5 separate regions of the Homo sapiens genome follow, and all the other regions are linked to region 1. The links are contacts of gene promoters, found by promoter capture Hi-C in blood cells and fetal thymus (Javierre and others, 2016). All regions are on one chromosome and are shown on one strand. The core of a region is centred on a gene start or on the middle of the fragment in contact, and the rest is flanking DNA. Distances in the headings are between cores, read along the strand shown. Region 1 holds the start of PDE3A (phosphodiesterase 3A). Region 2 has its middle 130 kb from the start of LINC02398. Region 3 has its middle 120 kb from the start of LINC02398. Region 4 has its middle 84 kb from the start of LINC02398. Region 5 has its middle 51 kb from the start of LINC02398.

What was found. Contacts are between HindIII fragments. The CHiCAGO score rates a contact against its expected background, and 5 or more counts as called.
Region 2: a fragment that was not itself captured here is called in contact with the fragment with the promoter of PDE3A in region 1 in 1 of 17 cell types (monocytes); the score reaches 6.6 in monocytes.
Region 3: a contact is called between a fragment that was not itself captured here and the fragment with the promoter of PDE3A in region 1, in 1 of 17 cell types (monocytes). The highest score is 5.5, in monocytes.
Region 4: a contact is called between a fragment that was not itself captured here and the fragment with the promoter of PDE3A in region 1, in 1 of 17 cell types (megakaryocytes). The highest score is 7.0, in megakaryocytes.
Region 5: a fragment that was not itself captured here is called in contact with the fragment with the promoter of PDE3A in region 1 in 1 of 17 cell types (megakaryocytes); the score reaches 7.0 in megakaryocytes.

The regions. Positions count from the first base shown.
Region 1 is chr12:20,366,478-20,370,929 of GRCh38, reverse strand. PDE3A (phosphodiesterase 3A) reads right to left here and starts at 2,393. Exons shown (of 16, transcript NM_000921.5): 1 at 686-2,393. The coding sequence starts at 1,645. PDE3A-AS1 (PDE3A antisense RNA 1) reads left to right here and starts at 674. Exons shown (of 2, transcript NR_186033.1): 1 at 674-1,089. RefSeq lists a silencer at 1,061-1,355. The HindIII fragment of the contact is 3,200 bases long and covers 1-2,651 here.
Region 2 is chr12:19,880,458-19,884,909 of GRCh38, reverse strand. No RefSeq gene overlaps it. Among named protein-coding and RNA genes, the nearest start is that of LINC02398, 130 kb to the left of the region's middle. The HindIII fragment of the contact is 4,405 bases long and covers 394-4,452 here.
Region 3 is chr12:19,896,344-19,900,795 of GRCh38, reverse strand. No RefSeq gene overlaps it. Among named protein-coding and RNA genes, the nearest start is that of LINC02398, 120 kb to the left of the region's middle. The HindIII fragment of the contact is 9,213 bases long and covers 1-4,452 here.
Region 4 is chr12:19,928,496-19,932,947 of GRCh38, reverse strand. No RefSeq gene overlaps it. Among named protein-coding and RNA genes, the nearest start is that of LINC02398, 84 kb to the left of the region's middle. The HindIII fragment of the contact is 2,657 bases long and covers 639-3,295 here.
Region 5 is chr12:19,961,473-19,965,924 of GRCh38, reverse strand. No RefSeq gene overlaps it. Among named protein-coding and RNA genes, the nearest start is that of LINC02398, 51 kb to the left of the region's middle. The HindIII fragment of the contact is 597 bases long and covers 2,403-2,999 here.

The DNA of each region.
Region 1 (4,452 bases), core at 1,144-3,643:
TCAGACATATTATTCCCCAAGTTGAAGTTTGTGATACAAAACACACTAGCATGTAATAATGTATGCCCCTAAATTATATTTAAAAACAAATTGGGCACCATCAGCTGCAGTCTCTCCAAATAAAACTTACTGCAAAACCAGAAAATGTGTATCAATTCCTCACCTTCAAGCACAGCTTGCTTTGCTCTAGAATCTTTTTACTGGTTTTCATAAATGTTTAATATCATTTCATTAAAAAGATTTTACTTTTTAAAAAGTAGAAATCTAGTAAAATCTATGTGTTAAAAAAATCACTCATTGCTAAAATCTAAACTTAATTCTAAAATTTCTGCTAAGGAAGGAAAGCGTAAGAGTACTGAAAAGAGTAGGCAAGCCATACACCAGGTGTAGCAGATCTAAAAAGTTGGCCCAGCTGTGGAAGACCCTACACATGCCATCTAGTTTTGTTAATTGTGTTTCAGTCGTTCAGGTTATAAAACTACTGTGTGAAAGAGAGGGCAAAAAAACAAAAAAAAAAAAACAAAAAAAACAAAAAAAAAACCTGCTAGTTTCTTAATTCTGAAGTTAGACCAGTTTTCTAGGCTATCTTCCCTTTAGTTCCCAGCGCTCGGATTCTCTCCACTCTGCGCCGGTTGCCAAGTGTTTCAAGTTTCCAAGAGCCGAGAGAGGAGTTGCCAGTGCTTACCTGTTCCCTCGGTATACAGGGCAGGGAGGTCCTCCGATGGGACTTGCTGCTGCAGCCGGACATCTCGGCGGACACGACGGAGCTGGACCGCCTCCTCCTCTTAAACACCGGGATATCTTCCTTGGTCCCAGCAATCAGCTGGGACCCCAAATGCTCCCTTGGAGCCGCCTCCGCGGACTGCGGCAAGATTTGTTCCACGTACCTGGCCAAGAGGATCCCCAGCACGCCGGCCAGGTACGCCAGGTAAGGTCTCCAGGCGACCTTGAACCTCTCTAAGGAAATGAGGGACACGGTCCTGACCGCGCTAGTCAAGGCGATCATGAGGACGCCCAGCCTCAGCCTCAGCACCAGCCATGTCGCGGCGGCCAAGCAGCTGAGCACCACCCCCGCGGCGGGGAGTGAGAGTAAGTGATCCTCCCCGACGCCCAGCCCAATCTGGACGAGCGCTTCCCCCCCGCAGCAGGCGGCCAGCAGCGCGACAGCCAGAGGCAGGCGCACCCCGGCGCGCAGGAGGTACAAGCCCATCCAGAAGAAGGCACACAGGAGACTGAAGAGCAGCGCCGAGGGCTGCAGCCAGGGGCTGAGCCGCGCACCGCCCCCGGGAGCACCTCCCCGAGGCCCCGGGAAGACGCCCCCTTCTGCTCCCGGGGCTGCTTCCTCCTCCTCCGCCGCCGCCGCCTCCTTACACTGCTCCAGGTCACAGCCGACCTCCCCGCGGACCAGCCTCACCAGCAGCGCCAGCAGAAAGGACAGGGAGCCCGCGCACAGCGCGGAGGAAAGTTTCCGAGAGCTCCGGAGCGGCTGCAGCACCAGGTCTCCCCAGCAGCCACGGCAGCCCGAGTCCCGCGGCGATGCGGGGTCCGCACGATGGTGGCAGTCCCGGCCCGCCGTGGGGGCTTGACTCACCCCACTGTGGACGGGCTTGTCCCTGACTCGTGCAGCGTCGCCGGGCACTGCCATGGTATAGGGTGCCCTCTTCACTGAATTCCCAGTGGCCCCCCGACGCCCCCGCCCCGACCCACGCGCGCGCGCGCACACACACACACACACACACGCACGCACGCTCTTCCCAATTCCACCCTCGGAATCCTTCTTCTCCCCAGGCCCACAATCCACTGAAAGTTTCAGCTTTCGAATAACTCCTGGAGAATGCTAGATGCTCCAATGAGACTTCTTCAAGTTAAAGGCTAGCACGCTCAAGTTGAAAACAAGCACGGGCAGAAACGATCAGGATTCCCCTTTTCTCTCTTTGAATATCTTTCACAGATTCTCTGCTCCACCCCCACCCCCGACTTATATCCTCCGGGGTCTCTTCCTACTTCAGGATTTCAAAAATTGCCCAATGCATCCCGCGCGCAGGAGCCGCTGACGCTGGAGGAGCCGGGGGCGCAGGGCGGGCTCCGGGCCATTCCGAGGCGCAGCTCGGCGCTGCGCTGCGCTGCAGCGCGCCGGGCCCGCGGCAGATGGAGGTCTCCCTTCTCCTCCTTCCTGCAGCTCTTTTTCTATCACTCTTTCTTTCTCCTCGGCCGATTCTCCCCGGCACGGCCCCAGGACGCGAATCGCCATTCCCTGGGGCAGAAAGCAAAGCCTCCCCCGCCTCTGTCAATCCAATTCATGGCAAAGGATGGAAAAAAAAAAATGGACAAGGGGCTGAGAAATAAGAAGTTGCTAAGTCCCGTCGGAGAGAGAGCCAGACCGAGAGACTAGCGGCAGCCGCAGAAGGGAGGGAGGGAGAAGGAGCGAGTAAGAGAGGAAGGGAGGGTGAGAAGAAAGGGAGGGTGAGAAGGGAGAAGGAGATTTGCTTTTTTTTTCCCTCCCCACTTCTATTTGATGCAAGGTTGGTGGTGATTTGCAGTTTTGCAAAGGGGAAACGAGTGGCGACGACTGCTTAAAATTGTATAAAACTGGCAACTGGAGTGATCGACAATTCCGCTTTCTTTCTTTAAGGCAACTCCCTAGGAAAGCTTTCTCAGCCGAGCTCCCGCCCCCTCCTGCGGAGGAGGCGCTACCCTCAGCTCGATTGCTCCTTTGCTGGGAAAGCGGCCGGTTCACCCTACAGGCTGGAGCAGGGGCTGCTGAGGCTGATCCACCGCGCAGCCCACCGCAGCCCCGGGGTGTGGGGGGCTGCGGCTAGCCCTGAGGCTGAGCTCCCTAGAACGTTGGAAGGAAAAAAAAAAAAAAAAGATTGTGTTTGCCTACTTGGCAGATGAGAGCCAACATACTTTCTACTGTCCCTGAAAATGACAGCCACTTCTACTGTCTGATTCAAAGATGTTCCCAAGTCAGGTACAACAGCAGTCCAATTTCAGGTGACAGTGTCATCCTTTGGTCGCTCCTGCTGGAAGGTCTGCTTTATGAGAACCCAAGCCTGGCCTGTTGGTTCAAATGATGGAAGAATCAGCCTTACCTAGACCACAATAGTATAAAAAGAAAGGAAGGAGAGGCAGCAGTCATTTAAATCCAGTGCATGAGTATTACACAATAGTTTTTGACTGTGGAAAGTAAAATTACATTGAGATTAAGTGACCGTATCCTCAAAAAAGGTTAACAAAGTTTAAAAGCCCAGATAGTTCATCAAAAAATAAAGAAAAATCTCAAGGGAGAGGTGAGGATAGGTGGGTTAACACTAGGAGAGATCTTAGAAGACTGTCTATGGCTGCAAAATACTACATCTTCGAGCAAAGCATATGAAAAAAATCAGGACCTTAGTTATTAATGAGTAAAGGTTCGTGTACTGCAGCAGTGTGATATTTGAGAAACTAAAAGAAAATTTTCAAGCTAACCTTTTTTTGGCAGATTATGAAAAAGAATTCAGTATCTGTTCAATGGACTTAAACTCTATTGATGTTCCCTGGGATCTAGTTGTCTTTTTAATATGATACTCCACTTTTAACATGGCTATCTTAGATGTCATTTGCCCTCACTAATAATAATCTTAATAATCCAATTTTGTCTTAATTATCTTGACATTCCAGGTTAAAGTGTATTTACAGCCTAGAGCATTTAGATAATTGATTCAATATGCCACTGTATTTTGTATGTAGACATGAAGCAATAAAAAAAGCCAAAAGGAGATCCTTGAGATAAAATTAATTTATGGGGACAGGGGGAGAAGATGACTTAAGTTTTAAACAGCTTCATGGGAAGCAGCCTGTTCTAGTAGAAGGCAGATATACTATAAAGGTATAGCTTCTCTCTGTCAGATGTCCAGAATTGTGCTACCACACAGGAGTATGAGTTGGGCAGCTAGTCAATGGCAGTGGGCACCATCTGTTTAATAATTAAGGAAACAGGAGCAGCAATGTCTTTGCCAAAGACAAATGAGCCCCCTAGCACGCACACATACTTTCATGAGTTTCCTTTTTAGACATATGATTCATATGCCAGATCCTACCTGGGACACATCGGAGTGAAAAACCTTGATTGGAAAATCATTCATATCTGTTGGCATCAAAAATAACATATTAAAATAATAAACCAAAAATCTGGCATATATCAAGGTTAAAAAGAAAAGCATAGTAAGGGAAATTTTAGAATATTTCAATTTTATCTGTCCCCTACCCCCACAATTATCTCAGTTCTTTAGAAAATTTAATATAATATTATCATAAAAACTGAACACTTAAGGTATGGGAAGCAGATGTTTTTTAAAAGTTGTAACAGGAAAAAATGGCATTTGCTAATGGCAGCAAAACAAGAATATTCTAAATCCATGTGTTAATAACATCCTGGAACTCTTCAATAAAATAAGGAGGCAATGTCCTGGC
Region 2 (4,452 bases), core at 1,347-3,846, 490 kb after region 1:
CTAAGCACTGCCCAGGCGGGCTGGTGTCCATCCACTTCTGCCCTCAGAAACACCTGCCCTACCCCTGGACTGGAGTTGAAAGAGGTGGGCAAGAAGGGGCACAAGAAAGTTGGTTTAAAATAAAAATTTTGGCTAAAGATGTGGGATCCAGAGGTAACCGGAAAGAACCCTCAGTTGTCTTTATTCTGACACTGGCACCATAAATATACTCCATGAAATTCTACCAATGCTATCAGAAAAACAAAAGAGGCAATGGTATGTTTAAGTTGGTAGTAAGGTCTGTTTAATATTTTGTTTACCAATTTCATTTGTGTTTTCACAATGAAAATGCAAAACTAAATTTTACTACCCAGCATGTTTGCTAAAAATAAATGCATAGTTTAATAATAAGCTTATTTTCAACTGCATACTGTTCTCTTTTCTGTAAATCCAGTCCTAAGCAACCCTGATTTTAAATTGAAAGGGAAGTTCACTCTCCTTTTTGTGTAATTTCTAAAAATAGTTTGCTTAGCTAAATATGTAGGTCCTGCAGAATTGGCTAGATTTATGAAACATTCTTTAATAAACCAAACAATGACTATATAAAAAGCAGATGCAATACCTTTGTAATTCAATTTTATAGTTTAAAAATATTCTACATGGAAGTGCCAAATTCTGCCCTACAGAGACACAGGGCTCCCACTGACGTCAATGAGAGCCAGGCACCCACAAAGGAGGGCAAAACTATGCCCTGAGCACTTAAATTTAGTAATCCATTAGGCGCGGTGAGGAAGAAAAAGATCAGCTCAAATACCTCTCATCAGCATTTAAATTTGCCAGTGTTAAATGCTCTTGGAAGCATGTTTAAACCTACAGAGCTTATAGATGTAGGAAGAAACACAGGAGCAGAAGGATTTTTTCACATAATAATTTAATTGGAATTTTATGTACACTTCTATTCCCAAGGATAAGTATGCCTTTATTCCTTCTCAGACATTTTTTTTTAACCATTTCAGATGACTGAAGAGTCTGATTTCCTAAAATAAAAGGTAGAACTTGTGGTTGTATACACAAGGAAAAGTGTCTTTCCTTAAATGAGTAAAAAGAGGATTTATACATAACTAATGACTACTTCTGAGGTAAGCCAGCACTCCTGTATTCACTTGAATTAGAAAAGGGAAAGATAATGGGAAAAGAGAAATGTTACAAGTTGCAAAATCGAGTGATATTTCCAGGGAAGCCACTTACTTCCTGTAGAACTTTAGTGCCGCAACTTACAGTGAGCTATTATCTTAACTGTACATTGTTGAAATAAAGTGAGGATGCAGTACCACACTTTAAATGTAAAAGCACTTTAAAGAATTAAATGTATCCTAGAAAAATGAAGTAGTAGTAGCAGAAACATCATCTGGATATAGTCTTGAAATTCAAAGACTCTACTATTAATGACATTATCTTGCCAGATTCTGTCATTAATGGAATTTTCCACAAGAGAGTTAATTCCCTGACTGCTCTGTAAATTTTAAAAATCTTTGAGTCACACCAGCTGAGTTTAGTTTTAAAGCATGACAAGAGGTAGACAATCTTTTCCTCAACTATATCTTCCCTCTTTCTAGTCTCTTCCCTTTTTACTTCTTGCTGCCAGAATAATCTTACTAAAACAATGTGCTTCTCAGTGAAAATACTTTTACTGCCTCTCCAATTAACCACAGAGCAAGTCTGAATGCCGTAAGCTAAGAACCAAGGTTCTCTTTAATTTGGACCCCACTCTCCAGTAGCCAATCTGCACTATTCATAGTCCTCCTATAAAGGCCTCCATACTCACCCTTCCTGTGCCTTTGCCACTTTGCTCTGTCTGCCAACAACCACATCTCTAGAGGTCACCGTTTAGATTTATTTCAAAGTCAGATTCACAAATCACCTTCTCTACAATGTCTCCCACAATCTCTTGCTCCCAGCTAGAAGTACATTATTCCTCAACTGAACTCCGCCATAGCAGTTACCTTGTACTTCCCTTACTGCATGAATGACTTTCCTTTCAGTTTTAATTACTAATGTGTGATTTATTTTTCTTATTAGCCTATACACCCCTTATAGGCAAGTTGTATATTTAATTCATACTTTTTTAATCATAAAATACCTAGACTAATAATTTACTAGCATTACAAGAGTCAAAGATATTTGCCAGCAATGAAAAGGATTGGTATACAATGTTATAATTATTGTTGGGAAAACAATCATTATAACCCAAGTCAAAATAGAGTAAAATGCTGGCTCCATCTCAAGAGTGGTCAGAGAGCCAAGGAGGACTATAAAATGTTCTGGCGCAAGTGGCTTCTAGTCTGGCAACAGCTTGCAGTGAGAATTTCCTCCCTGGGATCATGACTTTAAATGTGAAAACATCATTTGTTATATTATTACTGGTGAAAGATAAAGAGAGAGGTAGCTGAGGAGACATCTGTGCTATCACCACCTAATCCTCACAACTCATCTGAATGCTGCTCTCACTGACTTGAGAAGCACGGTAGTTTTATAAAAGACAGACTCACAATAATGCATACGAGGAAAGTTCTTCTTCTTTTCCCTGACACAAGCAAGTCCATGACACAGTATTCTATCTCTTGTTTCTGTCCCCTAGGGGACTGAGAATCAGAGACCTTGGGCACAAAACCAGGTAAAAGACAAGAAATATGATGCCTTGGTCAGATGGCTGCTAATTAGTTTAAAGGAAACAGTTTTCAGAGGAAGTAATCAATTGAGATGCCATTGGAGATCCCTTAACCATTTCCAGCCCAGTGGAACCTGATCAGCTGATTCACCTGTCACACTTATGGAGCATGCAAATACTGAGACTACCTTTTCAGGGTTTCTGGTTTAGTGAAAGAGTCCTAGAGATTGAGCATTTGTACTTTTAAAAAGCACTCAGGACACTCTTTTGCATCAACTGGAGATAAAGATTCAAGTTGAGTTTAAAAGCTATTTTCCTTTTAAATTCCAGTACCCTCATGTAGTAAAACTAGATCATTGTGTCAACAACATAAAATGTCCAATCATGGCTACTATGTTCACCAAAGTAAGGCAATCAGAATAAACAGTGGATATATACAAGATAAAAATATTTTATTGAGTGTATTATTGATTAATCAGTTATACTCGCAGGCAGAATTTGCAAGGAGGGGGCATGTATATAAAAGCTAAGGAAAGTTTGCTAACCTAAAAACAAAACTACTTTTACTTTTTTTTTTTTTTTTTTTTTGAGACAGAGTCTCTCTCTGTCACCCAGGCTGGAGTGCAGTGGCACGATCTCAGCTCACTGCAACTTCCGGGTTCAAATGATTCTCCTGCCTCAGTCTGCCGAGTAGCTGCGACTACAGGCTCATGCCCCCATGCTCGGCTAATTTTTTGTAATTTTTAGTGGAGACAGGGGTTTCACCATATTAGCCAGGATGGTCTCGATCTCATGACCTCATGATCTGCCCGCCTTGGCCTCCCAAAGTCCTGGGATTACAGCATGAGCCACCGCACCCAGCCTCTTTTATATTTTGTAAGAGAATCACCTCTCTGGCCGTAATACAATAGAATTTCATTAATACAATCAATACTTTTGTTTTGAAACGACACTGTGTTAAGTAGGTAAAGTACGACATACATATTTATCAGATCACTTAGGATATTCCATGCAGCACACAGCTGCCTAATTCATTTCTCTCTGCTCCATTTTCCAAATTTGCATAAGTAAAAAGGCATATGTAAGGCTTATTTTTTCCCGCAAATTCTACTGTTTTCTCTCTCCTCCTCTTCTCCAATTATTTCTTTCTTTGCCTTTACTATTAGAAGCAACAACTGAGTCTCATCATTTAGATGTTGTTGCTAGAAGAAGCCACTGTGAATTATACATTTGAATCTAATCTAATCTATCTATAATGCCTGAGCCTTACAAAACTTGGCTGCAAATAGCATTCTCTCAAAAGGTATTTAGTCCTTCCTGCTGCATGTTTTCTGTCTGTTGTATTACTTAAAAATGAAGCAATGGAAGATAAGATGGTGCAAGTTATTCATAATGTAGAAACTTGCAAGAAGCTATGCTTCAGGTTTGTTCATTATCATGTTGCTATTTGGAACAATTTTCTCTTTTCTTCTTTCAATCAGATCAAAATTTTGTCACAGCTCTGGTTAGATTTTCCATATGTAAGACTTTTCCCTTTTCCCAATCATCATCAACATTGCTGTATTTCCTAACTCAACATGTCTTAAAGTTTACTTAAAAGGAAATTATTCTCCATTTAGCTATATTAGATAGGGACCAGAGTGATTCTACAGTAAAAGTAAGCAAAAAGCAATAGTTATAAAAACAGAGAGAAAAGTTAGCCTTGCTTAACAAATTTCTTCTCACTCAGTCTAAGTAAAGGTTATTGTAATATTATAGGATAGAGGGTGTATAAGCCAAAGAAAAGTAAGAACAAAAGGAAAAGC
Region 3 (4,452 bases), core at 966-3,465, 470 kb after region 1:
TCAATAGTCATTTTATAGAGTTTGACAAGCTGATTCTAAAATATACACAAAAGTTCTAAAGTCAAGAATAGCCAAAATACTTTTGAAGAAGTACAAGGTAAGGGAACTTGCTATAACAGATGTCAAGACTTATTTTAAAACTGAAGTAAATAAAACAGTGTGGTACTAGCCCAGTGACAGAGAGCTCAGAGTCAGGCCACATTGGTATGGGCATCTGTATATGACAGAAATACCAGAATCTATTAGTAAAGTCATGGCAGCTTTTGAAGTAAATGGTGCCAGGAAAATTGAATATCCATGTAGGGTAAAATAAAATCAGACCCTTAGTCACAAAATGTACTAAAGCCAATCAGATAAAGACCAATATTAAAACGGTAAAATTATAAGTATTTATAAAATAATAGAGAAACATATCTATATGACTTTAAGGTAGGGAAAGATTTCTTTCTTTCTTTCTTTCTTTCTTTCTTTCTTTCTTTCTTTTTTTTGAGACAGAGTTTCACTCTTGTTGCCCAAGCTGGAGTGCAATGGCACGATCTTGGTTCAGTGAAACCTCCGCCTCCTGGGTTCAAGCAATTCTCCTGCCTCAGCCTCCCAAGAAGCTGGGATTACAGGTGCGTGCCACCACACTTAGCTAATTTTTTGTATTTTTAGTAGAAATGGGGTTTCACTATGTTAGCCAGGCTGGTCTTGAACTCCTGACCTCAGGTGATCTGCCTGCCTCGGCCTCCCAAAGTGCTGGGATTACAGGCATGAGCCACCACGCTCAGCCAAGATTTCTTAAATAAGGTGCAAACAAAATTATTCATGAAGGAGTGATTGATACATTTTTTATGTAACGTTAAGGACATCTTCTTATCTAAAGAACTATAAAGAAAAAAATTACAAAAAAGAGAGAAAGATATTTGCAATGGACAAACAAAAAACTGGTAACTGGAATATTAAAATCATTTCTATAAATAAATTTTTAAAAGATAATACAGAAGAAAAATGGGCAAAATTGTAACTAGGCAAAATAACAAAAAAAACTAAATGACAAATAAATGTACAAAATGTTGCTCAATTTCATTAGTAATAAGGGACATGCAAATTTCCACAATCATTATATATTCATCAGGCTAACAGAAATTTTAAAAATTTAACTATACTAAGTGCTGGTAAGAATGTGGCAATGGGAAATCCCATATATTGCTGGAAAACCATTTGACATTTTTTGGTAAAATTGAAGATTTGCATTCCTTCCACTTAACAATTTCATGTCTAGAGAAATTAGTATAAATGCACACTCGAATACAAGTACAAGGACAGTCACAGCTGGAAACAAGCCAAATGTCTTCCAATGGTAGGACAGATATAAATGTGGTGTAGTCATACAATGAAATACTATACAGCAATGAAAATAAACTTTATGCTATAGCATATATGACTGTGAATATGTCTCATAAATGTAATACTGAGATACAGTTGGTAGGCAAAAAGAAATATATGAGGCCATTCAAGCAGAGTTTCTTTTTTAAAGAAACAACTAAACTAAAATGCAGTTTTTAGAGATGGATATGAGGGATTAGTGCTCCCTACTTTTCTTTACAGTTTTATGAGAAAAGACCACAGAATGGATATCTCTAGGTCAAAGAGATGAGGTTGTGATGAGAGAGGGACAAACATGGTTGAGGACTTCCTGGGAGCTGGCTACATTGTATTTCTTGACCTCAATGGTGATTGTACAGTGTTTACCACATAATTATTTGTCCACATGACAAGTATTTGTTTTATACATTTTTCTACATACATATTATATTTCATAATAAAGAAAAAACAATAGAAAACAAAGTAATATATTTTCTAGGTTCTTCTTCACTGAAATCTTGAGTTTTCATTCTGTTCTACCAAATAGCTATCGTGCAATTTCTTATATTTTATAGGTTATATTTTCCCATTTAAATGCATTCCCTGTATTATTGAACTTTGTTCCCTGAAGAATATAAGACCTCTCATCATGTTTAGCTGTATTGTAACAATCTGAATTTATATTTAAAAATGCGTAATATGTGGAATGGCAGTCTTCTCCAATGCCCACCTCCAAAGCTAGTTAATATGAAAATCTGACCTGACATAGAAAACACAACAATAACATGAATATGCAAAGGATATATCGGGTTTTTTTCTATCTACCAACAGATGAATCTATGTAAGTGGCAAGGCCACTTTTGTACATATATGACGTAGATTCCAAATATACGTAAAGGCTTAGAGCAATCTAACAAAATTGAATACCCAAAAGATGTTATCCTTGCACATAGTTTTCCAAACTTTCACCAAAAATATTATTCTACAGAAGATATAAGAAACCTTAGGGTTTCAAATTAATGGCTTTAAGTGCTGGATTTTTGTCCATTTTTAGAAAATATCAGTCCCACGCATTCTATAAAAGGCAATTATACTCAATCCCATAGTATCATCTCAACCCCATACATTAAAAAATGAAAATGAAAAATGACATTAATGGACACACTAAAAAACGTTGCAGTAGTAACACTTTTAAAATACAGTTATCATGTAGCTATATTAGTCTGACATTACCCTGTGCCTAGAATCTGTCTTCTCAATTCTATTTTGAGACTTTTGGTCATTTCTCTGATAGCAATGCCAATAAAGCTGCCAGTTACCATTAATCTCAGTTCTATGAAAGAATAAATCATTCTCACAAGCAATTAAACAATAAACACATTAAAATAAGACCAATTAGAGCTAAGACTAGACATTTACCACATAGTTATAACACAGGCTTGTCATAATCATTTCAGCTTTAACTGGACACTTCTTCAATAATTCTTTCTAACAGAAGCAAGATAAGATTTTGCTGTGGGAGTACCCAAATTCAGTAGAGTTTAAATTGAAATACTTAATCAGGAATTTCAATCATATGTCTGCAAGACTTTCCTTTGTACATTAATTTGTATGCCCACGATTTGTCCTATGCTTTGTTTGCCAATAGTTTACCATGTGCAGCATGCTCTGAAGTTTGTAACTGTGCCAGCTCTCTTTCACATTTCCAATCTTTTAATAAATTGCTTTGCAAAGACAATGAAAGCTCACAGTCAGTGGCCACATGTAATTTTTTTCCTTTAGGTAGTCTTCATTATATAGACAACTGGTTTCAAGTTGTTTTAATAACTTGGCCCTTTGTGGGTATCAAAATGTCTAAGTTCTTCTTCTTGAATTCCTTAGGCAGTCTTTACAAATGTATCAGTAAGTTATTGCTTCATATGTAACTTTGTAATACTATAAATATATGAATAAACGTAGGCAATTTTCAGAGGAACTATAAATAAATCCTTAATTTCTCAAGATTTTATTGTTGCCCAGTTATATATGCCATATTTTATCACCAAAAAAATACTCATTGATCCTCCTAAGGAAATAGGGAAATAGTGTAGCTCTTTATTGAATGGCTTGTGGGCAACAGCAAATTCCAATTTTTTCCACTCACTAATAGAGAAACTGCTTCTCATTAATCTAGCAAAAGGAGAGAGAAGCTGTAAATACAGACAGAGAACTCCAGTTTTGTTAAGAGATTAGGGTTTGGGAGAGGAAATTTGATGAGGCAAAGGGAGCTCTCACTGAAAATTCAAACAAAAACAAAAATGCTTAGGTGTAGCAAGTGCATCTGGGAATTATGAAATGCCAGGGCCAGGAATGGTGGCTCACACCTATAATCTCAACACTTTGGGAGGCAAATGCAAGAAGATTGCTTAAAGCCAGGAGTTCAAGACCAGCCTTGGCAACATCTCTACAAAAATAAAGAGCCAGATGTCATGGCATGCACGTCACAGCTACTGGAGGCTGAGGTAAGAGGCGTGCTTGAACCCAGGAGCCAAGTCTGCAGTGAGTTATGATCGCACCACTGCACTCAAGCCTGAATGACAGAGTGAGGCCCTGTCTCTGGGGAGGACGAGGAGGAGGAGGAGAAGAAGAAGAAGGAAGAAGAAGGAAGAAGGAGAAGGAAGGAGGAGGAAGGAGGAGGAAGAAGGAGGAAGAAGGAGGAAGGAGGAGAAAGGAAGAAGGAAGAAGGAAAGAAGAAGGAAGAAGGAGGAAGAAGGAAGAAGAAGAGGAGGAGGAGGAGGAACAGGAAGAAGAAAAAAGAGGAGGAGGAAGAGGAGGAGGGAAGAAGAAGGAAGAAGAAGAAAGAAGAGGAGGAAGGAGGAAATAAATGCCACGTTTTGATGTACTGCCATTAATAAGATATTTTTCAATAAAAGTGATTACAATGAAGAAAAGTTTTGAGAATTTGCCCTGTGTATAGTGCCAGTGAAGCAGCTTGAGAGAGCAGAGGGGTCTTATACAGGTACAGAGAGAGACCAAGGAGAGACCCCACTCCAATCAGGGTTGAGCCAAAACACCAAACAGGTGCCTTATACAAGTCAGCCTTAGTAACTTAAAAGTACACTACCC
Region 4 (4,452 bases), core at 718-3,217, 440 kb after region 1:
GTTCATTCTCTTGAACTTGATTTAATTTACTCTATTAACTCTTTCTAAAAGAAGAACAGTGTTCTTGGCTCAAAATGTTATTTTGTTTTATTTTGCATAAATTGGCATAATGAAGCACTAACTCAAAATATGGATAACGAAATCAAGTAAATGCATTAGTCAACCTACAGTAATTGTATTCAAGTTCATCATGGGTGGCATTATACACGTAAAATGCCTACAACTTTCAAATTAATCACAACCTCTATTGAGAAGAGGCAAGAGCGGTGCTGAAGAGCACTACTTAGCAAAGCTGTGAAGAGAGCCCCTGGAGCTATTCTGTTTTTACTAAATAACTGCACAGAAGACTGGGAGGGGCCCTGTTTTCCTACCAGTGCTATGAGAGTGAGCACAGCTCAAAATTTATTCCTCCTGTGAATGTATCTGAATAATCTCTGTATTTTTAGGACCCGGCATGGTTTCCATAACACAGTCAAATGATCTCTTCTTTCAGTTGAAATTATTCAGTTTTTCCCTCTCTAGTTCATAAACTAGTTTTTCTGAAAGTGTAGTCTACTGATCACCTCCATCAGAATTATCTGCAAATTCTACACCAGCACTCTCAGGATGAGATCTACAACTTTAATTTTAAACAAGCTTCCTGGGTATTTCTCACTGATGTGGAAATTTTTGAGACCCATTCCTATATAAGCACACACATACAGATCAAATAGCAAACACATTTCTCATTCTGAGAGAAAAATACACTAAACAGAGGTCAGAAAGTAAGATTTTTCCTTTTTTTATCTCAATTTAGGATTTTTCAGTTAGTCTTTTGTATCAGTTACTAAAAGGAATGATTATCCACCCTGGGGGAGACCTATTTCCTAGGTAAATAATGAAAAATGGTAACACCTTTTGAAAAATCTGCTTTGCATTTGCTATTCATTGGCGACTTTGTCCTATGACGAATTAGAACCCATCACATTCCATAAAATTCTTCTTCATGCCCATCTGGAAATGTAACATGTTTGAGCCACATAATTTCTCCAAGCAAGAGCCTTACCATTTGGAGATGATTGAGAGTACACAAAGACGAAAATTCTACAAAGTCAAATATTTTAAGGCTGTAGAAATTAATACTTGAGATCACAGTTTAACCAAATACTTTCATTAAATACATTAAAGGGCACAGAAATTTTCCAATACTCTTTGTCATGAATAAATTTTTCAAGTCCAGTTGTCCTTGACGTTGCTGGGGCTTTTTTTACAGCCCTTCTGTAGACACTTTCTTTCCAGTGCTGGAATGGTCTGTGAGAGCTGGTTGCAAAGGTCTGTCACAAATAAGTAATTTCCATGTGGGCAGATGTTGTGCTAGTTTTCTGCCTGCTTTGCTGTCAGTCATTAAAGTACCTAAAATCAGCAATGTTTTGACAAATATCAAGTAATTAAATGATTATAGCTGTAGCTAACTTTTCAAAAAACATTTAAAAAGGCCCTGTCAAGTGGATGAGTTCATGTAGTCTCCTTTCTTAATTGCCCAGAAGTGTTTCTAATAATGTGAGAGCTTTTGCTGAAAGAAGAGCTCTTAATGATGAAATGCGGAATGCTTTAAACAAGTATCATCTAAATTAGAAAATAAAAACATCAAGTTCATTAAAAGAAATGTACTACCCAAAGATTTGGGGCCAGGAAGAAATCAACAGGCTATTCAGTGTTTTCTGAGGACAAAAAAAAAAAGTCCTTTGTATTCAAAAACAGTACACATGACTGTTCCTTTGTGCCCTTTGAGTTTGTTTTCCTGTAATTGTGATCAGTTCATATTAATTTATCCATACTCTCTCCCTTGTTTCCCCTTACTTGTGAGGCAGGGCTTTATAGGCCATTGCCAAAATGAGAAGAGAATCGTGTTTGAGCCTTAATGATTGCATTCCATATCATCATTATCATCATTATCATCATCATCATCATCATTACCTTTATCATTATCATAGAATACTGAAAAACAAGTAACAAGAGCATTAAATATATTTTGGAAAAAATATAGTTTCTAATTATTTAATCAATGCAATAACAAGAATGGCTAACATTTATTCATTGCCAAGAAATGTTCTAAGACTTTAATCCTCCTAACAATTTAGTGAATTAAGTAATATTATTAAACCGATGTTAAAGAAGAAAACTGAGGTACAAAGAAGTTAAACATTTTGCTAAGGTCATATGGCTGGTAAATACTAGAGTCAGGACTGAAAAGTAGGCAGGCTAGCTTCAAAGTCCATACTCTTAACCACTGTGCAATGATGCTATGAAGCAAATTAAATTGGTTCAATAGTATGCTCTTGAGAGCTCATTATCTAAACTGAGCTTACCAGTCACAAGTAAGTCTTACATAACAATTTAGATGTATTCTCAAAGGTCTTCATAAAATCAAAGCAGAATCATTTTTATCTGATATAAAATATGCCCTAGAGTTGCAGATAGGTCTAATTTATAAGACTAATATAAGAGATCAACTAAACGACTGTTATATTTATTATATTGATCAAAATTAGCTGTAACACAGTGATAGGAGTCTACTGTAAGAGCCCAAGTAAAAGATAATATGGTATAACCAAGGGCAAAGATAGTAGGGATAAAGTGGAGAAGAGGCATAAGAAAGGCATTAAATAGAATGTGTAAATAAGACTTGTCAATTGATTAGATATTAGTAGTAAGAATGAGTTCTGGTAGTTATAGTCTCTGTGATGAAGAATACAAAAAGGAGGTATACATATGGGTCTAGGTCAAATGGGGAGACAGAAATCACACAGTACTTTAAATAGAGAAATGTTAACACATAGAATTATTAGCTAAAATAAGGGATAACCTACTAAGAAGCAAACTTTGAAGACAACAGAAATGGTAGATATCCACTAGCAGCCACTACCTCTGGGGCTAGGATATAACACCCAAGGAAGCAACAAATCTGAAGGAGACCTTCATCTCCCACCAAAGTTGAATTCCAGACCTTGACAGAGAAATGCAGCCATGGCCCAGTGATGATAAAGTATTTTGCTAGCATCCCACACCAGCAGAACACATTAGGATTCCAACAGCTGGGATGCTGGAGGGAATGACACATAAGAGGTGCCAGGATGCAGAAACCACTGGAAAGCTACTCTTGGGGTACTGAGGAAAGTGGCCCACAGGAAAGTGTCAATCACTGCTGGCTGCTGACCATGGTGTGCTGCTGGAGCCTATAAAGAGGAGCACATGAACCAGGAAGAGAAACCTCTCCTTCCTGTAGTGCCCTTCAAAATTCACTACTGACAAAGCTTAACATCATGCCAGCTGACAAGGGAGAAATGCTGACAGGAACTAGCTCCATTATCATAGAGAAGGCAATAAAGAGAAGAATTGGAGCTGAGAAGCAATCGATTGAAAGCTGGCACAGTATGTGCAGAAACCATGTGAATTCTATTAAGGACATTTTGAGTGTGAGATGCCTTTTCGGATACCCATATTGGATGAATGGGTCTTGAAATCTAGGGAACAGCTTGAACTGGAGGTACAGATTTTTAGACTATCAACAGATAAGTGGCAGGTAGAGCCTTCAACATGGATGAAAATGGGTTTTTGAAAAAAAAAAATGCCAAGGGCACAAGGGAAACAGCACATATCAAAAGCAGGCATAGAAAAAAGAGCCTACAAAGTAAACCAGTAAATAAATCATAAGAACAGATTTATGGTTCAAATGTGACGCAAAAGAGTTGAATGACTTAAAGTGTTATGTAAAAGAAAAACTGAAAATTTTCATTAGATTTGACAAGAGGTAAATTTAGTAAAAGAACTTTCATGTACAGGTAATAATGAAGCCAAATTGCAATAGATCATGAATAGTGAGGAAACAGAGATGGAAAACTTGTATTATTTTTTTCACTAGGGTGGTAATTCAAAGAGAACGAAGTGTGAATGGAGACGTTTTGTTTGCTTTGGTGTGCGAGAGAGAGAAAAATGAAAAAATGGTAATGTGAAAGAAGTTTGAGAATGTGAAGAATCCAATGCAAATCAGGAGATCCAGGAAAGAGAGGAGACAATTGATGAAGTGAGTACTGCAAAAGCAGCACCTACATTAAGGGAATCAGACTCAAACAGGAGTAAAAATACCTCTTCCTTAGGAAAGTTTTCAATTAGTGAACACAAATAAATGGTAGAATTTGCATCCACTCTAAAATAAACTTACTATACCACCCAACCACATACAATATATTCATTGAATTTTGGAGCTTGAAAAGAACCCAGAGCTTCTCAAATGCTGATCCACAAACCAGTAATGTCAGAATGGCATGAAGGAAGCTCTCTTTCTGAGGATGCCTTAGGAGCTAATTTAAAAGACAGGGGGTGGGGCAGGCATGGTGGCTCATGCCTGTAACCCCAACACTTTGAGAGGCTGAGGGGGCAGATCACGAGGTCAGGAAATCGAGACCATCCTGG
Region 5 (4,452 bases), core at 1,452-3,951, 410 kb after region 1:
CAGAAAAACCCTCAAACACAGTATGTCCAACATAGAACTTATCTCCTCATACGAATTCCTTCCCCTATATGCTTTATCTCAGTGATGGTACCACCATCTATCTGGGCCCACAAGCCATAACACTAAGAGACATCCTTGTCATCTGTTTTGCTATCAGCTCCCACTTCCCACCAACACCAACCCTGTTCACTGGCTGATTTTATCTCCTAAATGCATTTGCAATGGTTTCACTCTAGGCTAGGCTACCTACATCTTTCACATAAGTAGTGAAAAATAGTCTCTTGTTTCCCTCTATCTTCCCTTTCCAGACTCCAATTAGTCTCCGCAATGCAGTCAAGCAGATCTCATGAAGATATAAATCTCACAGCCTTCTCTAAAACTTCTCCCACTGATATCTGGGATCCTGAGGCAAGAGTGACAGAGGCAACTACTCAGAAATCAGGATCCATGATCAAAGGAGCAACAGCAGTGTCAACCAAGAATGTGTTTTTAGCAAATCTTCCTACACACTCCCCCTATTCTCCAGCCATGGCAGTTATTAACCTTTCCAGAATACAATAAAGCCTCTGTGATTCTTGGCTTCTAAATGAACTTGTTACACTTTGTCTGATAAACTCGTACTTTTTCTTTAGGACTCTGTTCAATCCCTCTTGCCTCTTTTAGCCATCTTTGGCTGCTACAATGGTGGGTTAGCTGATCCTCAGACCTTCCATATTTTGTGTTTATACTCACACAAAATATAATTGTTTAAATACATGACTGCAGTTATGATGGCAATGACAGCCACTATGGGTAAAGAGTATTCATTCATTTGTTCTCAATTTTCAACAAATATTTTGGAGTGCCTACTATGTGCTAACACATGTAACTCTAGCATATGAAAGGAATACGGCAGAGACTCCGAAAGCATGTCCAGACTGAATTTTAGAAAAACTTTCTTTTGTCAATGTTCTCTGTCTTCTTTAGGAAAGAAAGAAGGGGCCAATGGTGTTTTTATCACCATTGTTGATGTTATAACTTTTCGATTTTTAATCTTCAGTGTCTAATACAATGCCTGGCACATAATAGGTGTTACGTGAATGTTTTCTGAATAGATGGACAAAGCCCTAGAAAACCCTTCCCATATTTTTTGCTAGGTGAACTCCAATTCATGCTTCACATTCAGGAAGCATTACTCAGCTCCCTCACACAATTTTGGCAGCCCCTCCATTAGCCTCCCAGAGCAAATGTGCATACCATTACAATACTACTTAATAGCATTTTAAAATCTTTTCAAGTACGTTTCTTCACTAGAGTGTGAGCTCTTGATATTATGTGTCTGGTTGACCCAGCATAATGAATTAATGAATGTAAGAACTACAATGAAATACAATATCTGAAAGTACACAAGAAACACCCATTAATTCTGAATTGAAGGATAGAAGGTTAGGTTTTTGAAGAAAATGGCATTTAGGTGAAAGATGAATAAAATGAATAAAACAAATGTTCAGGAGTTACATAAGGGACAAGGACAGGAACAGGCAGTCCAAATAGAGAATAGTAGAACAGCAGGGTCTGACAGTGCCAGTACAGGGGGTGACAGCAGAGTCTGGACCGCCAGGAGAGTGGAGGATTTGGAGATGCTGCAGGGAAGGTGCAAGAAAGGAGCTGGGAGCCAGGTTTTGAAAGGCTAATGCATGCTAAGAAACTTTGGTCACAGGGAGAATTTAAATGTGGTTTCAGAACGCAGCAGGCTGCTGAACATTAAAATCTACTAAGGTCAAGAAAGTGGTCGCTGTATTTGGTGAACAGAAAGTGAGAGCTTTCAGGAGACTGTTTTTGTTGGATATGAGAGTCAAAGATCAAAAATGCAAAGATTTCACAATAAGTGGAAATAAAACAGGTGCAAAAAGAGTAGCTCATTCTGAGAATTTTAGTAATGAAAGAAAATGTTTCAAAACAAGGACAAGAAATCAAAGCTGGTGAAAGGACATTAGACTTACGAGCAAGTCTAAGAAAAAGAAGCTAATTAATGGAGGCAATATCAAGAAATGGACAAAAATGAACAGTACAGCTGCTAAGATGATCCTTTGAAAGAAAGATGGCTATTTCTCCTTTAGAGATGGATTTCCAACCTTAAAAGATTCAGCATGCTATGCTTCTTTAGGAACTTTTTAATACAGTGCATGTGCTAAGGGTAAATATTAGCATCAAAGTATTTAATAACATTTTATTTATCACTTAAAGGGATAAAGACTGCGTTATTTTAGAAACGCAAAAATCTAGGCAGTATTGGCTGAGAGATGATCTCTAAATTTTTTTTGTGACTCTGAATTTCCTTGTCTATAAGCCTCTTCTAAATCAACAATCCTGACAGTTTTCAGTGTCAGAGATGTGGGAAGGTTAGTCGTTTACTATAAGCTTTAATGAACAGTGCTGGTAGATGTATTCAGTTTTATGTCTCTAAAAATGTCTTCCAAAGAGAGAAAGTTATCACAGTTAAAAGTTGTGAATTAATCTATATTCCTGTTACTGAGGATTATTTATTTTCCAAAGTCCAATGGCTGGCATACTGTGTTAGGAAACTAGTATAGAAATGTGCCATACAATTAAAACTTGATTTCAAGTCAATATACATTTCTTATTCCTGTAAGAAATTAGCAGAATGATGGCTCCCATGCACAGATCATTCAGTATTCTTAAGGTTCTGTCACAAAAACAAAAAATAAAATTTGCTGCTAAATATAAAGCTAGGTGAATCTTATAGTGGCAAAATTAAAAATTAAAGAAATAAATTCTTAGAAAATGAAATCAGTTACTTTACATAATCTGCTAAATGTTACTGTGTATAGTAATATCTTAAACTAGAAGAAAATTTCATTAAGTTCTTACAATTGCACCTTGATGATCAGGGTAATTTTTCTTTCCTTTTACCTTCCAAAAGAAATTTAACACTGTTATTGTCTATTATAAAAGTTATCTAAAATGATAGCTAGTGAGTTTTAACAACATACTAAGCTTAATATGAATTATCTGTAGTTTTGCCTTTTCCTCATCTTAAATTATCCAGCTTCTTCACTTTCAACCACTAATTCATTTTTTGTTTATCAATGTAGATATAGACACATCCTATACACCTCCAGATCCATCCCATATATTCTGTAAGGTAAGTTCAGTCGTTCTTTAGTAGGAATCTTTTCTTAACCTACATCATGCAAAAAAAAAAAAAAAAGAAGAAGAAATATGTTGACCTAATTGTCTTTTGGAGCATGTGATCTTCACAGCCATATTTACAATGTCTCTTTTTAAACGCTGATGTTCTTTTTAAATGCTGACGTTCTCCCTACTCTAGATTTAAAAGTTTTAGGGAAAACATACTAAAAAAAAAGGATGAGGGGGGCAGGTGGAAACCATCTAATGCTGTGTAGGATGATGACCTTGCTAGTTTTTTAATTCCATCGTGCTGGGCCTATCTTCCCATCTTGATTGATTAGCGCTTGATGGCATGGTAAAAGCCTGCAGCAATGTTAAAGGATTGCTGCTGCATCGCTTTGACATAATTCCAAAAAGTTGCCAATGACAGTCTGCTTACCCTGCCGCTCCAACCAGCTTCTGTTGTTTGTTATTTGCAGAAGTCGTTGCCAGGGTTTGGCTCTCAAGAAACCCTGAAGGTCAGATAAGTCTCTTAATGAGCAATGGGATGAGAGGGGAAAGGGCTGATGGCCCAATAAAAGTATCACCTACATCATTCTCATAGGTAGTTACCTAATCCACTTTCCAACAAGAATTTAAATAAATGGTTTTAAGTAAAATAAAATAGAATGGCTATATTCTTCTTTTTGTAAAACTGTGAAAGGACGTCCAACTGCAAGCATAAAAGTATTTTTAATTTAAACGGATTTATAGCACATTTGAAGGATAATATATACTAAGCCTCCAATAAAGTGGAAAAATATTTGAAGTAGCTCAAGAATTGCCTTGCTCCAAGATACAGCAAGTAATCCATTGTAGAGGATCCATTTTATAAAAATAAAATTAATCTTGTGAGTCACCAAGTATCGTCTCTAGTGACTGTATCAGTATACACATGAACAATAAATATGGAATTAATCTTTTTTGCCACCTAATATCCTAAGAAGGTAACATTTTTATTTATTTCTATAAAGATTATATGAATACTTACCCATGTGAGATTCAGCATACAAATGCAACAGGGATACAAAATATCTAAGCTAAGAAAGAGGTAGGAGTAAGAGTGTATTCTATTGTGTGTTAGAACCCTTGCATGTCTATACTCAGCATATGTATCACTCATTCAAGCACTTGTCAGAAACAAATAGTCCTATTTATACTCGCCTTCATTTTCAGGTTAGATTTTTTTCTTCAAGTAAGGTTTGATGCAAGTATCGTAGTAGTTTTGCTACTAAGAGAAAGAAATAGACATGTTTTTCTTCTTTTATAGTTATATTAGTC